2 separate regions of the Homo sapiens genome follow, and region 1 is linked to region 2. Evidence: promoter capture Hi-C in human tissues and cell types (Jung and others, 2019). All regions are on one chromosome and are shown on one strand. Each heading gives the region's core, a stretch centred on a gene start or on the middle of the fragment in contact. The rest is flanking DNA. Distances are from core to core; before and after follow the strand shown.

The links. The method cuts DNA at HindIII sites, captures the fragments that hold promoters and counts their contacts. A contact is called where the count stands out against the background at its distance.
Region 1: a fragment that was not itself captured here is called in contact with the fragment with the promoter of UTP20 in region 2 in 2 of the 25 tissues and cell types used here (mesendoderm cells and thymus).

Annotation. Positions count from the first base shown.
Region 1 is chr12:101,224,299-101,230,066 of GRCh38, forward strand. It overlaps the pseudogene RPS6P19. Among named protein-coding and RNA genes, the nearest start is that of SLC5A8, 17 kb to the left of the region's middle. The HindIII fragment of the contact is 6,482 bases long and covers 1-5,665 here.
Region 2 is chr12:101,277,540-101,283,055 of GRCh38, forward strand. It overlaps UTP20 (UTP20 small subunit processome component), which reads left to right and starts at 2,566. Exons shown (of 62, transcript NM_014503.3): 1 at 2,566-2,788; 2 at 3,577-3,657. The coding sequence starts at 2,744. RefSeq lists enhancers at 2,265-2,856, 2,590-2,639. The HindIII fragment of the contact is 9,089 bases long and covers 1,080-5,516 here.

The DNA.
Region 1 (5,768 bases), core at 1,175-3,674, 53 kb before region 2:
CCACAGAATTTCCACTTCTTGTGGCATACCAAATGAAACGTGTGTATATGTGCACAAATAGTGTGTACAAGAATATTCATAGCATTAAGATTTACTCCAAACTAGAAACAACTCAGAAGTACATCCACAGTAACATGGATAGACTGTGGTATCCGTGTATAACCAAAGTGGATATATGTAATGATGATGTGGTTGAATTTTACAGAGCTGAGTAAAAGAAACCAAACACAAAAGAATATGCACCATATGTCTCTATTTACATAAAATTCAAAAGCAGGCAAAGCTAAACTCAGTTGTTTCACAATGGATACATAGGTGGTAAAACTGTAAAGGAAAAGAAGGAAGCAGTAATCATAAAAGGTAGGATGGTGTCACATCTAAAGGGAGAGAACTAGTTGTAATCAGGTGGGGACATATGGGGGGCTTTAGGGAAGCTAGCAATGTTTATTTCTTGATTTGAGTGTTGGTTAATGATCATTCACTTTATAATATATATTAAACTGTATGCATATATTTGGTAATTTAAAAAGAAAACCACTTTTTAAACAGTGTGGCAGATTGAGCACATATTTTACCTTTTGTTCCCTTCCAAACTTCACAAAAATGACTCTAGTCATAAGGATAAAGAGAGTAAGAGACAAAAAACAAAACACTCATATAATTCTGGGATCCAAAAAGCAGGTGAATAAGAAGAGACTCACTTAGAAAAGCAGAGAAAGCTGAAATTCAAGACAGCAGCATGAGAAGGTCTTAGAAGCAGGCTTATTTGTATCTCAGAAGCCCCAAAAGGAGCAGGAATTGGATGTTGTGATAGCTCTTGAAGCAGGGCCTATGTTGGGATAGAGACTTAAAAAACAGAGTTGGTTGCAAATCTGTATGAAGGGACATTTCACCTATCCCCTTGCCTACCCTGTGCAGCTGGGCAACTGTCCCTCCCCTAGCCTAGCAGAAGACTGAAGTCTTACTCACAGAACTTAACAGGAGACTCCGGACAGGGAACACTGATGTAACTGTGAGGCGGCCTCTGTATTGAACACTGGGGAACTAAGGGAATGTCTACATACTCAGAAACAAAATCAAAAATGAAACACCCCCTGCAACCTTCCCCCATAATCTCCTTCCCAAACTCTTCCCCAAGAGCGTAAACCTCCACTTAATATGTTTTGAAAATCAGGCAATCAATGTGGACTGATTGTTATCTAGACCTGGTGCACAGTGGTTGTCTTGGGATCTCAGTTTAAAATATGGTGGGAATTATTCTGGCCTGTATCCTACTGATTCTTTATTGCCTGAATCTCATGTTTCTTCTTTGGATACTCCCTTGTCTTGGCCGTGCATATCATCCAGTAGCGTCCTGAGAAAGCATGCACAGGAGATCATTATTTTGAGAATGAGCATATGTGAAAAAACCTTTATTCTCCCCCTAGTACTTTATGGCCTGTTAAGCGGAGGTGTGTCAACCATTGGGCTTTTCTATGGGGTGTTCTGGCTGAGTTCATTAGGCAACCTCCAAATGTTAATATTAATATTATCATGGTATTCTTCTTTCTCCACTTCTTCCTCCTCCCTTCTCCCTTTCCTTTCCTTCTCCCTCTCCTCTCCTTTCCCCTCCTCCCCAGCACCCCTCCTCATCATTCTCCTCCTCCTATTTTCCCTCCCCTCCTCCTTCTCATTGCTTAGTCCATTGTCTAGAGCAAGAACCCTCCCAGCATAGTGACTCATGCCTATAATCCCAGCACATTGGGAGGCCAAGGTGGGAAAATCACTTGAGGCCAGGAGTTAGAGACCAGCCTGGGCCACATGGCAAGACCCCATCTCTACAAAAAATAAAATAAATACCCATGTGGTGGCATGTACCTATAATCCCAGCTACTTGGGAGGCTTAGGTGGGAAGATTGCTTGAGCCCCAGGAGATAGAAGTTGCCGTGAACCGTGATTGCCACTGTATTCCAGCCTGGGTGACAGAGCGAGACCTTGTCTAAAAAAAAAAAAAAAAAAAAAAGCAAGAACTCTGTGATTCACTTACCCCTGAATCTCTGTGGCCTAGTACCATACCTGACACCCAATAAATATTTAAACTGAATTCAAATTAACAACTTCACGTTGAAGTTAGATGAGCTCTCTTCCTCTACTTTGTGAGCTATATGTGAAGGGGTTGAAAATGCAAGAGTAGATAAAAAGAGAAATCTTCCACTTGAAGAAGTTGTATGCAACAATTAAACTGAGCATCATGACATCTGGCAGCATCCTCCCTTTGCTGGACTTCTCAGCAGCATTTCACAGAGTGGATCATTCCCTCCTAGAAATTTTTTACCTTCCAGCACACTCTCCTGGTTTCCTCCAGCCTTACAGGTCACTCCTTCCCAATCTCTTTTGCTGGAGCTCCTCCTATTTCTGGACTGTGAATGCTGGAGTGACCAGGACTTAGTCTTCCTCAGTACTTTCATCCTGTCCCGCAGCTTTAACTTCTGTTTATGAGCTGAACATTCCATATAGCTCAGCTATCTCCAGTTCTGGCTCCTTTCCTAAACTCCAGATTCTTCACACCCTATGGCCACACAACATTTCCACTTAGAGGTCTAACAGGCATCCCAAACTTAGCATGGCCAAAAACCCAGGCCTTCGCTATCCACTCCCCCAAACCTGCTCTGCCTCAGGTATTCCTGTCTTGGTCGATAGCAACATCACCCACTCAACTGCTCGGACCAAAACCTTGTGACCATGGAATGCAGTGTTTGCAGTGATTGTGAATCTCAACTCTGCAGCCAGAACGTCTGGGGTCTAAAATCAGCTCCAGCATTTCCCGTGTGCATTGCCCTTCCTGTCTGTGCCTCAGTTTCTCATCAGAAAATGGAAATGATAATAGTGCCTACCCTATGGGATTGCTGTAAGGGTGATGTGGGTGAAAGTAGATTAAAGCATATAGAATCTGGCATAGGGAAGGTATTAGAAAGGCATTTGATATTATTTTTATTGTTATGAATATATGTAAAACATAGGAACAAGGCCTGACATAGAGTATGCACTAAGATTGATTCCTCTTTTTCCCTGATGTATCATATTCAATTCAAAGGGAATCCGGTTGGTTTTATATTCAAACTACAGATAAACTATAACTATTTCTCTCTGTCTGCACCATTGTAACCCTGACCCATGCTTTTACCTCCTCTTTCAGTTGAACCCCACAATAGTCACCTAACTTATCTCCCTCACCCACAGTCTCCTTCTCACATGTGAGTCTGATTGTGTCACTCCTTGCTCAGAAGTTTCCACTGGCTTCCAAAGTACTCAGGTCTTCAGTGTGGCTAGCAAGGTGCTCTCTAATCTAGCACCTAGCTACCTGGCCAGCATTAGCTTCTACCACCTAGCCCTCCCTCAGTGGGCTCCCTCACACCAGACTCCTTGTCATTCCCCCATCTCCACCTAACATCATTCCCTGTCCTCCCCATCCTATCTGTCCTACCACATATCACACCCTGCTATTACGCTAGTCAATGCTGCCCTGGATAGAACTGTGATAGGGGGTGGGAGGTGTCATAAGACAGAGACTTAATCAGTTTATTTAGTTCCTCAACTTTAGCTTATGAGGCATTCTTCACATTGAAGGAATGTGATTCAGATTTGGGGGCTGTGGGAAGCTACTGAGCAGATTCAGCATAAGTTACCACATGTCAGCTCTGCAGTCTTAAAAATTATACAAGTTGCTTTAAGTTTCTCCTTTAAAGTACTCATGGAAGTCATCATCTTCTCCATCATTTTCATCAATGTCCTTAGTCTTTATTGATTATTTTGCTGGGGGTGGTATGATCTTACTCATTTGTTAAGTAAGTCAAAAAATCTTATTTTTGACTAGACTCAGAAGTAGAAGCTTACAGAGGGGACAACCTGTGTCTCTGGTAATCTGCTCCTGGAGTTTTTCTTTAGTCTCCTTCATTCTCTTGGCCAAAAGTTTAACATATTTTGTGGCTCTTTCTTATTTTTCTTAGTATGCTGTTTCTTCTGAGCAATACCAGTGTTTGTATTGCAGGACATGTAGAGTAACAAGATGCTGAATCTTGGGTGCTTTGGTCCTCAGTATCTTACTCTCTTTGTTTAAGGGCTTTCTGGCAACATATGGGTGGGGGGCATTGTCTTCTTTAGAGAGACTGAAAAGTTTGCATTTCTGTTAGCTCTTTTGGGCCCCCAGCAACATGACACCATAGTATCAGTCAGTCCAGGAGTATCCTTCCCTCCTTTTTTTTTTTTTTTTTAAGATAACCAACTGGAGAATGCTCAGATTGGCATGCACAATGAAACCCCAAACAGATTCGCACTTTCTTTCTCCAGTTCTCCTTGGTCTATAACAGGAATGCCCCTACTCAGTAGCAGTAGGCAGACCCAGCCATGGGTCAGGACACACTGCTTCATGAGGAAACCTTGTTCGTTGGTCCCACCACTGACTCGGACCACATAACTCTTCCAGAGCGTCGGCAGCAACCTCTGTGCCATATGCTTCTCATAAGTACAAAATTGCCATTCGTTGTCCAATCCAATGAGTGTCTGTCAGCCAGTGGCTGGGGAGGAGATATTTAGCTTCATCCTGAAGCAGCTAATTGCCTCCAAGGTGCCACAAAAAAGAGCTCATGTTTTTGTTTTTGTTTTTTCATTAAACATTTAATTACATAAACGCAGAGAATCATATGGTTGCTTTGATGCTTTATGAGCACAGACATCAGTCCTATGATAACCATTTACCTTTGAGATAATTGTACCTGTTTTAATGGGATTGATGTTATTTTAACATAAATAGGTGTTAATTTGGGGGCTTAAGAGAAAAGAGTGTCTTTTCTGTCAAAATGAATGTTAGGTACATTTTCAGCCTATGAGAATTCACCCACGAGGACCTTTATTTAGGAACAAATTATCTTCATCATGGTGGAATGTTGTACATTACTTGGTTATGTACGTATTCTATGTTGACCCCTCCAGAATCTTCATTATGTGAGGACAGCAACATTGTTTTATTTAGAATAGTGCCTGGTGAATGTAAACATTTAATAAATAAATTATAAATAAACATTAAACATTTACTTAAATTGTAGGTTAAAAAAACACTTCGTTTTGGTCAGGAGTTTGAGACCGGTCTGAGCAATATGGTGAAATCTCGTCTCTGCTAAAAATACAAAAATTAGCCAGGCATGGTGGTAGGCACCTGTAGTCCCGACTACTCGGGAGGCTGAGACAGGAGAATTGCTTGAACCCGTTGAACCTGAGAGTCCGAGGTTGCAGTAAGCCAAAATCACGCCACCGCACTCCAGCCTGGGCAACAGAGCGAGACTCTGTCTCAAAAACAAACAAACAAACAAACAAAAAAAACAGAAACACATATGGTTAATGGCTATGATTATGTTAAATGTATGAAAATAATGTTGGAAGGAAACATACAAGAATGATAATAGTTATCAGAAGGTTATGATTATAGGTGATTTTTAACCAAAATTTTAAATTTTATTGAAACATTACATTGTTCTTTTTTTTTAAAAAAAAAAAAAGTAATGTCACAAATGAAAGCACATGGAATTGGCAGTCCAAGTCCCGGATTCCAGTACTTACTGTGTGGAGTGGCATTAGGTAAGTCTCTTGAGCACTCTTGCTGTGCTTCTGTTTCCTCTTCAGTAAATGGAAGGTCATAGGACTTTGCAGTTCCATAATTCTGATTCTCACTTCTGCCAACATTAGCCACTCCAAATCCTTCCCTCTGTAGTTTCTATTCTTCACTCAAGGCCAGA
Region 2 (5,516 bases), core at 1,316-3,815:
TAGCAAACATTTATTTCATGCTCTATGCACCAACACAGTATCTTGAAAGACTGGTATTATTGTCATCTCTATTTTATAGATGAGGAAATTGGGTCTCAGAAAGGTTAAGTAATTTCTGAGCTTGCGCAATTATGGTGTCTGGCACATTCTAAGCATCTTTTATCCATTAGCTTATTTACTCTGCATAATCACCACCCGTGAGGTAGCTACTTTTGTTAGCTTCATTTACATATACGGAAATGTCATTCTGAAAGGGTAACTGACCCTACTAATAAATGGCAGAACCAGGATTACCTCCAGACAACCTGGTTCCAGCATCTATGCTCTCAACCACCATGTTCTATTGACATATTGTTAAGCCAGTCAGAGTCAAGTCAGTGTGTGAGGGTCATGTAATGAAGAACAATGCAAACAATAAATGGTCAATATAACTTGTGTCAGTTCTTTCAGTTTCTTTGATTTTTCTCTTCACTCCTTATTGTCCAGTTAACTCCATTACCAAAAATAAATTGCAGAGAAGGAAAATGGCACAATGATGTGGGGGTGATTTTGGCAACAGGTTGGGAAAATATTGCTTTGAGTGGGGGCTTCTACCCTCAGTTAACTGCAGGCTTCTAACTCTCTGAAACGTGCACATTTTAGTGTGGATGAGCTTCTTTGCATCTTTCTGGGAGAAGTTCTACAGCTTTCTTAGATTTCCCTGTGACCCATAAAAGGCTTTTAAAAAAAAAAGACCAATTATTAGCCTACTGAAAGCCAATGGAACATTAGGCACGTCAATATTTTATTATAAAAAAATCTATAAATGCTATGGAGGCATTAAAATATTTAGAACAACCCTGTGGTGACACAGAAAATGTTGATGTGATAATGCCAATAACAATTTGAAAGTGTTATGTTCACTTTCTCAACTCTGATTACCTCCTCAATCCATGCATATTTCACTTCCTTTCTTCCAACTAGACTGTACTTAGCAAGGTCACCAGTGACCTTCACCTTGTCAGATCCAGCAACCACTTCTCTATCCTCGAATTTGCAGTATAGTTGGCCACCAGCTCTGCTTCCATGCCATAACTAGTCTGTTTCTACCTTACTGGCTCTCTTTCCCAGTCGCAAATGCCTCACACTTGAGGTATTTAGGTGTATTTAAGTCACGTCTGCAGCCCAGACTGCTACAGTGAGCTCTGTACAACAATATATCCAATTGTCTACTTAACATCACTCCTTGACTAAAATGTAAGCATCTCAGACCAAGTATTTCCAGTCTGGGCATGGTGGCTCACCCCTGTAATCCCAGCACTTTGGGAGGCCAAGCCAAGAGGACTGCTTGAGTCCAGAAGTTTGATACCAGCCTGGGCAATATAGCAAGATCCCATCTCTACAAATAATAATAATAATAATAATAATAATAATAATAATAATAAAAGAGCTGGGTGTGGTGGTGCATGCCTGTAGCCCTAGCTACTTGGGAGGCTGAGGTGGGAGGCTCACTTTAGCCCAGGAATTGAAGGCTGTGAATATTTTCAAATAATTAATTAATACTATTATTGCCTTTCTCGTTTGGCTCCCAGAACAGTACCTGGTCCACAGAGGACTCTCAAGAAATAGTTGCTGAATGAATGAATGAATGTAAAATGGGGTAAATAATTATATTTTTAAATTATTTTTTAAAATTGTACATATATGTATATATAACTGTACAATTTAACAACATGCTATGTGTAGACATTAAAGTGATGGGAAAAACACCAAACATTAACAGCGGTTGTGCATGAAATTAAAAGATTTTTCTTAAAACTCCTTCTCTATTTTTCAATTTTATTTACAGCGTAGTGGTTAAGAATACCAAAATTTAGAGTCTGAGTGAAGACTGCCAGTTACCAGCTGCACAACCTTGGTTTCCTCTTGTGTCAAATTGGCTTAAAAATATACACAGTACCGGCCAGGCGCGGTGGCTCACACCTGTAATCCCAGCACTTTGGAAAACCGAGGCGGGCGGATTGCCTGAGCTCAGGAGTTCGCGACCAGCCTGGGCAACAAGGTGAAACCCCGTCTCTACTAAAATACAAAAGAATTAGCCGGGCGTGGCGGCGGGTGCCTGTAGTCCCAGCTACTTTGGACGCTGAGGCAGGAGAACTGCTTGAACCCGGGAGGCGGAGATTGTAGTGAGCCGAGATCGCGCCACTGCCCTCCAGCCTGGGAGACAGAGTGAGACTCCGTCTCAAAAAAAAAAAAAAAAAAGTATATATCTATATATAGATATATAGATAGACGCAGTACCTCCTTTGTATTAACATCCCTAATAAGCTTTACTGTGAAATTATGGATGAAAGGATCTTTGCACGATGCAGGTACGTAGTGAGGGACAGTAATGTTAGTTGATAACGATTACAGGTATGTTTTATTTTATAATGAAAATACATTTGTCTTCTAAACCTTTACCGAAGGGAGTGAAAAGAACACCTCACCCAAACGCCCGCCCTTATGTGCGCAGCCCCGCCTCCTGTAGGCCCCACCCCACCAAAGGGTGCGCCTGCGCCGTTCTTTTTTCCGTCCACGTGACCCACTCAGGCTCCTCCTTGTCTCCAACATGGCGGCGCCCAGGGGCTCAAGCCGCACGTGAGAAAGTCTGGGCATCTGGGAATCGGAGAGTATAGCCTGTGAGCCGCTTTCCCCTCCTTACTGTCGGTTGCATCCCTTCGACACTCCCGAGGCCGTCGCGGGCCACTGGCCCTCTGCAGCCATGAAGACAAAGCCCGTTTCCCACAAGACCGAGAACACCTACCGGGTGAGCGCGGGAGCTTAGGCAGGGAGCCGCGGGTCTCCGCTGCCTCAGTCGTGAGACAGGCTCTGAGCGAGACTCCAGGGGCCTCAGACTTCTGGGCCGAGTGTGTCACTTTCCTGGAGGCTCCGGCGAAAGAGGGAGACACTGGATGTAGTAAACATGGGTTGGAGGAGGAAAGAAGTGTGGACAGCAAGTTTCACCCATGTTTTATGGGGTCTGGCCAGTCCTGGGAATTTCCTGTAGTCCAGAATTAAATTCACTATTCCAGGAGATTGCTTAGGACCAATTCTCCCCTGCTCTTTTATCTTTAAAGACCGAATTGGGCGAGTCGGCTGGCGGTGAGTGATTCCCAGCTAAGGGCAAATATACAGCGCTTTCTCTGTTTGCCCCTTGATAGATTGTTTCCAGGTCTTCCTTAGGATACAATCATAGGTCTGTATATGTTTAAAAACACTTTTATTGCAGCGACTTTGCTAGGTCCCCATGCTTATGGGAGGGTATGAAACCTAATAGATCTAGCGAGACTAATTGCCAGCATCCACCTAGGCTCACCAGTCTGGCAATGGAAATTTTATTTGAAATGACATAGCTGAGAGAAATTATGCAAACATAGAAGTATTCATTATCTTTGAACAGTGATGCAGTAAATTTGTTTACGGCCGTATGTTTTTCAGTTTATTTTTCCACTTATCCTTTGTGATTAGAGATGCCTACATGCAGCATTCAAATAGATATTAAAGATCTGATAAATTTTAATTAATTATGTATCTTAAATATACTTTCCCTTCCAGTTTCTTACATTTGCTGAACGACTGGGGAATGTTAATATTGATATTATTCACCGGATTGATAGAACTGCAAGCTATGAGGAGGTAAGAGAATGTGATACTAGTCAATCTTCAAGTGTTCATGGTGTTTTAGTTTCTTCTGTTAGTAGAAGTGAATTGTTTTTCAAGGTATTCCTTTTTGGACATGAAATGCTTTAGACCTGTGCTGTTTCATACAGTAGCCACATATGACAAATTGGATTTAAAGTAAATTAAAAATTTGGGTGCCCAAATGTGGCTAGTTGCTAACATATTGAATAAATATAGAATTGGAACATTTTCATCTTTGCAGAAAGTTCTGTTGGGTGAAGCTCTATTAGACAATTGACTTGACTTTCAGCTGTCTTTGTGATTCTAGCCTCTCCCTTTCCCTTATGCATTCCAAGCACTGCTGCAGATCCATATTCCTGAAGCTATAACTTTAAAGTGATTTTGAGGAAGCCCTTTTCCCGGGGCTTAATTTTCTCCTTTATAAAAATAAAGGGGCTAGACTACATAATATTTTCCAGTTTTAACCATACTCTGACTCTGTCATCCCTTTATTTTACTTTTATTTATTTATTCATTTTTTTGAGATGGAGTCTCGCTCCGTCTCCAGGTTGGAGTGCAGTGGCGTGATCTTGGCTCACTGCAATCTCCACCTCCCAGGTTTAAGCGATTCTCCTGCCTCAGCCTCCCGAGTAGCTGGGATTACAGGTACGTGCCACCACACCCAGCTAATTTTTGCATTTTTAGTAGAGACGGGGTTTTGACATGTTGGCCAGGATGGTCTCAATCTCCTGACCTCGTGATCTGCTCGCCTTGGCCTCCGAAAGTGCTGGGATTACAGGTGTGAGCCACCACGCCCGGCCTTGTCATCCTTTTATGCAGAAGTCTTTTTCTGCATCATGTCGTTATTCCTCCTAGCATTTTAAGGTCGTACGTAACATGCCTATACCTTGGCGATCCAATCTCAGTTCGTAATATTCTTCTTTACTATAATCAGACTCCACTCGCTGGGTCTTTGAATGCATTATCTCCACTGTGTAAATTCAATGTGTTAAATGATGTCGTCTAGGTGAGCACATTGTGCTTTGAGAACTCATAGTAAAGGGAACCTAACCTACATTCTTTAGGGGTGTCAAAAAAACGGTGATCTAGACGAGGTGACACCTGAATTTTGTTTATATAGGTTTTAGCATGGTAAAGAGGACAGGAAAGCCTGTTCCAGGCTGAGGGAGAAGCCTATATAAAGGAACAGAAGCTAGAGAATGCATGTCACATTCAAGAAACTGCAAAGCAGTCCAGTGTGGTTATAGGTGTGTATAGGGTGTTTTTTTTTTGTATTCATGGTGACTGGGATGGGGCAAGGGGGCAACTGGTGAGATAAAGCTGGAGAAATAGGCAAGGATCATAAAGGACTTCATATGTGAAGCTAAGTTGGGGTTTTATCCTGAAGCTGTAGGGACTTAGAGTTCTAGGACTGTAAGCAGGGGAATGAATGACATGATCAGGTTTAAATTTTCAATCTCTCTGGCTTTAGTGTGGAGAAAAGAGCAGGACTGCAGTTCTTCATCATGTCATGATTCCTCTGCTAGCCTTTTAAGGTCCTGTGTAACATGCCTTTAACTTGGAGATCCAATCTCAGTTGTCCAGTTGTGAGGATTTGACTGTTATCTAAGTAAGAAATGATTATGGTAGCAGCAATCAAGATAGAGAGAAGAGAAAGATTCCAGAGATGTTGAGGAAGTAGAATGAATGGATAGGACTTGTGACCTACTGGGTTTGCAGCAAGGAAGATAATGAGGTTAAGGCTGAATGGTTGAGGATGTTACTCATCAAGATATATTTATAGGTAAAGGAGCACAAGGTTGTAAAGATAAGATAATTAGTTCCATTTGGGGCTTGAATTTGAAATACCTTTG